Linked DNA regions of Homo sapiens: region 2 is linked to region 1. The links are contacts of gene promoters, found by promoter capture Hi-C in human tissues and cell types (Jung and others, 2019). All regions are on one chromosome and are shown on one strand. The core of a region is centred on a gene start or on the middle of the fragment in contact, and the rest is flanking DNA. Distances in the headings are between cores, read along the strand shown. Region 1 holds the start of TTR (transthyretin). Region 2 overlaps B4GALT6 (beta-1,4-galactosyltransferase 6).

The links. The method cuts DNA at HindIII sites, captures the fragments that hold promoters and counts their contacts. A contact is called where the count stands out against the background at its distance.
Region 2: a fragment that was not itself captured here is called in contact with the fragment with the promoter of TTR in region 1 in 2 of the 25 tissues and cell types used here (lymphoblastoid cells and thymus).

The regions. Positions count from the first base shown.
Region 1 is chr18:31,590,456-31,593,126 of GRCh38, forward strand. TTR (transthyretin) reads left to right here and starts at 1,422. Exons shown (of 4, transcript NM_000371.4): 1 at 1,422-1,516; 2 at 2,441-2,571. The coding sequence starts at 1,448. The HindIII fragment of the contact is 7,126 bases long and covers 1-2,671 here.
Region 2 is chr18:31,674,826-31,677,496 of GRCh38, forward strand. The region is part of intron 1 of B4GALT6 (beta-1,4-galactosyltransferase 6); the gene reads right to left. Among named protein-coding and RNA genes, the nearest start is that of B4GALT6, 8.4 kb to the right of the region's middle. The HindIII fragment of the contact is 5,260 bases long and covers 1-2,671 here.

The sequences.
Region 1 (2,671 bases), core at 172-2,671:
CTCTATCAGTTATGGGAATGTTCCCTCAATTCTTAGTGCTCCAAACCGGACTTGCTCTTGGCTTGTATTTGTCCAAAATATTTGTCTTCTCTATGTTTTCTACATGTTTGTCTTATAAGGACAAAAACCTGCCTTAGTTTATCCATGAACAAAGCCACGCATGCTAGTGGACACACACACACATGCGCGTGCGCGCGCACACACACACACACACACATACACACAGAGACTTTGTATGTGAGTAATGAATCATCAAATCATCATAATTTCTGGACTTGTATTAATAAGTCGGCCAGGAGGAAAAGAATCTGCTGTCAATCATGGCTTCTGGTTCTCACAGTCATCTCTACTTTCTTCCAGCAAGTTTGGTTCTGTCAAAAACCAGCTGTCAGCCTTGTTCCTGCATGCCCAATGCAGAAGAGTCAGTAAAGAAGATTTGGTTCTCTGTATTTCAGGGGCATCAATGCCAGGTTGAAATATGCCATTCTGGCCCAGCTCAGTGGCTCACACGTGTAATCCCAGCACTTTGGAAGGCCAAAGCGGGTGGATTGCTTGAGCTCAGGAGTTCGAGACCAGCCTGGGCAAGAGGCTGAGGTGGGAGGATGACCTGAGCCCGGGAGGTCAAGGCTGCAGCGAGCTGTGATCGTGCCACTGCACTCGAGCCAGGGCGTTGGAGTGAGACCCTGTCAAAAAAAAAAAAAAAAAGGAAGGAAAAAAGGAAGGAAGGAAGGGAGGGAGGGAAGATGCCATTCTTAGATTGAAGTGGACTTTATCTGGGCAGAACACACACACACATACACACATGCACACACACATTGTGGAGAAATTGCTGACTAAGCAAAGCTTCCAAATGACTTAGTTTGGCTAAAATGTAGGCTTTTAAAAATGTGAGCACTGCCAAGGGTTTTTCCTTGTTGACCCATGGATCCATCAAGTGCAAACATTTTCTAATGCACTATATTTAAGCCTGTGCAGCTAGATGTCATTCAACATGAAATACATTATTACAACTTGCATCTGTCTAAAATCTTGCATCTAAAATGAGAGACAAAAAATCTATAAAAATGGAAAACATGCATAGAAATATGTGAGGGAGGAAAAAATTACCCCCAAGAATGTTAGTGCACGCAGTCACACAGGGAGAAGACTATTTTTGTTTTGTTTTGATTGTTTTGTTTTGTTTTGGTTGTTTTGTTTTGGTGACCTAACTGGTCAAATGACCTATTAAGAATATTTCATAGAACGAATGTTCCGATGCTCTAATCTCTCTAGACAAGGTTCATATTTGTATGGGTTACTTATTCTCTCTTTGTTGACTAAGTCAATAATCAGAATCAGCAGGTTTGCAGTCAGATTGGCAGGGATAAGCAGCCTAGCTCAGGAGAAGTGAGTATAAAAGCCCCAGGCTGGGAGCAGCCATCACAGAAGTCCACTCATTCTTGGCAGGATGGCTTCTCATCGTCTGCTCCTCCTCTGCCTTGCTGGACTGGTATTTGTGTCTGAGGCTGGCCCTACGGTGAGTGTTTCTGTGACATCCCATTCCTACATTTAAGATTCACGCTAAATGAAGTAGAAGTGACTCCTTCCAGCTTTGCCAACCAGCTTTTATTACTAGGGCAAGGGTACCCAGCATCTATTTTTAATATAATTAATTCAAACTTCAAAAAGAATGAAGTTCCACTGAGCTTACTGAGCTGGGACTTGAACTCTGAGCATTCTACCTCATTGCTTTGGTGCATTAGGTTTGTAATATCTGGTACCTCTGTTTCCTCAGATAGATGATAGAAATAAAGATATGATATTAAGGAAGCTGTTAATACTGAATTTTCAGAAAAGTATCCCTCCATAAAATGTATTTGGGGGACAAACTGCAGGAGATTATATTCTGGCCCTATAGTTATTCAAAACGTATTTATTGATTAATCTTTAAAAGGCTTAGTGAACAATATTCTAGTCAGATATCTAATTCTTAAATCCTCTAGAAGAATTAACTAATACTATAAAATGGGTCTGGATGTAGTTCTGACATTATTTTATAACAACTGGTAAGAGGGAGTGACTATAGCAACAACTAAAATGATCTCAGGAAAACCTGTTTGGCCCTATGTATGGTACATTACATCTTTTCAGTAATTCCACTCAAATGGAGACTTTTAACAAAGCAACTGTTCTCAGGGGACCTATTTTCTCCCTTAAAATTCATTATACACATCCCTGGTTGATAGCAGTGTGTCTGGAGGCAGAAACCATTCTTGCTTTGGAAACAATTACGTCTGTGTTATACTGAGTAGGGAAGCTCATTAATTGTCGACACTTACGTTCCTGATAATGGGATCAGTGTGTAATTCTTGTTTCGCTCCAGATTTCTAATACCACAAAGAATAAATCCTTTCACTCTGATCAATTTTGTTAACTTCTCACGTGTCTTCTCTACACCCAGGGCACCGGTGAATCCAAGTGTCCTCTGATGGTCAAAGTTCTAGATGCTGTCCGAGGCAGTCCTGCCATCAATGTGGCCGTGCATGTGTTCAGAAAGGCTGCTGATGACACCTGGGAGCCATTTGCCTCTGGGTAAGTTGCCAAAGAACCCTCCCACAGGACTTGGTTTTATCTTCCCGTTTGCCCCTCACTTGGTAGAGAGAGGCTCACATCATCTGCTAAAGAATTTACA
Region 2 (2,671 bases), core at 84-2,583, 84 kb after region 1:
CAAATGTCAAGGATGTGCCAGGCTGTTTAAAAAAAAAAAAATTCTTTTATGTCAAAGTACTATTTGACCATGGTGACAATAATTCAAAACCATGTATGAACTCAAGGAAATCTGCAGTGCAAATTATTACTAACATATAATATCCTTACCTCTACTTTTCAAGTTATAAGCTGACAGAGTCTGCAAGAATTCTGTGTTCAGAGCCCCACTTTATCAAACAACAAATACAATGATCACATACAGGAGATCTATTTCAGATCTTAGCTAACAACTCAAGCTTTGCAGATGCAAATACTAAAAACTGACAAGAAATTCTTTGTAAAAGGTGTCTTTACAATTTCCACTCTGCAGTTTAACAATTTTAAGTTATTTCTGGAGAATCTTTGTGTTTGAATACTGATCAAGGTTAAACATTTTTAAATGAAAACTGACTTTTCCAATGATCTTACTAAAAATGTTCAGGGTGGAAACATGTTTATCCACATGTTTATTGAGTGTCTGCCGTTTACCAAGCAATGCCAAAAGTTAAGGGGCCATCTGGCTTCCTCTGTAAAGAACCAAGATCCTGCAAAGGCACAAACTGTCTAAAACATCAGAAGGACTTTTCCAACAACCAGATCATTAGTTCAGCCTACTTTAACCCTAGTTGATAATTCAAAAAGTAGACTCTGAACCTAGTGATATGAAAACACTATCTAACAAAAGATAACTATCAGCCTTGTCATCTGCTAATGCACTGTGTAATTCACTTAAAATAATAACTATATAGCTTTTTTAAAGCATGACAGGAACCCTAAGAGAGTTATGAACCACACTGGGGAAAGTGGAATCAGGAGGAAATGAAGAAATCAAGGAAGGAAGAATGCAGGAAATTAAACAGATCTTAAAAATCTAATCAGGAAACTAACTTAATGACATTACAGACTAAAAGACCAAGCCATAAATAAGCAGGCCCAGGAAACATTATAAAATTGTTGAAAATTAGTGATGTCAGAGTATATAAGTGTACAGTATATAAGAAGTCTATCAAAATGAAGTAAAATGTGAACTATTTGAATATGTTTTATAATCACCTCCAATTTACTTGTGTTTTCACAATTAAAATACCTTTCAGAATTCCAACTTAGTATTCATGAAAGGAAAATGAGCCTAAAATGAGAATCAGAGAAGGGAACTGGGTAGGAAATGAATTTCAAAGACTTCCAAAGCATATTTTCAAATCAGTAAACAAGGCACCTTTTAATTCTCTACCTTTGGTCTCTTGATTCAAATGAAAATAATGTCCAATTTCTCTTCCTATGAGTCAAACTGAAAATTGCACTATAATTAGAAGTCATAATTTCTGAGCAATTAACTTAATTATCAGGAAGGCAATACACGTAACAAGATTTCAGTAAAATCATATTAACACTTGCCTCAAATATATAAAAACAGGCCATAGTATTCAATCAAGATATCATGTCATAGTAACAAACTTCATATAGCTACTTAAATATACCACTGTAAAGATATTATAAAAATGACTTTTCTAGCCAAATGCTAGGAAATGCTTTGAAATTACTTCCACTGAGTAACCTATAATGCTATCCAGTTTAATAAGTTTTATTGATCTTAAGTAAATTACAATGTCTCTAATAATTAAAAACACTAAATAACAAATTTAGGATGACCTAGGACCCAATCACCTAGTCACTGCAGACTCATAAAGGAACACATGATCCTGGTTGGTATGAATAATGTATCCGTCCATTTCTCTTCTGAAGGAAAAGATTCTTCACCATGACAGCCATCTCTATTGCCAGTAAAACATGATGTTATAAACAAGTTAATCAGGTTTTCAGTAAGTAAGATTAGTTCTATGAAATATCAAATGATGTAAGATAATCAATTTAGAAAAGTATGTAGCACTATTTTTTCCCCACCATTTGGGGTATTTTTCAGAAACATCGCTCCCAGTGTGCAGAAACATCTGGGTACGTGTTAAAAATTAATCAGAATCAGAATCTCCCATAAGACCTGGGAAATAAGCTTATTAAAGCATATCACCTTAAATAAACCTTAAGCACATTCATATTTGAAAACTATTTCTTGTAGTAATTCTCCACACATAACATTTGTAACAAGTAAAACAGTAGACCCTTCCTTCCAAATCAGTTTAACTTATATTAAATATATCTTCTTTTACATAGCTTTTGAATATACCACAATTCATTTGGACATAAGAGTATCTGTGTTTCATCCTTAATGAACACATAACACAACAATTTGGTGAAGCCAAAGACTTTCACTAATTCAAGTAATTAAACATAAAAACAAAGATGCAAGCAAAAAGCCATACTACACTTCTGGAGGAAAAAAAATAAAACATTAAGATTTGAAATTACTAAGTATATTTTCCTAAACATTTTGCTGTGCTTCACAGCCAAAAATATAATTACTGACATAAACATCCTTTAAGCTAACTCTCCTATTTCAACTGAGAAGGGGGTATTGCTGTATCTTAAACCAAACTCAGCTAAATTTTGCTAAAACCAAAAACAATTATGTCCACAGGCAGTCTAACCATGAAACATAGCAAATCAAACTGGCCTAATACAGGATGTAAATGCTGAAGAAAAACAGAATTGAGTGCCACCTGAAAGTTTCCAGTGGGCCCAAGATATGAGGTAAA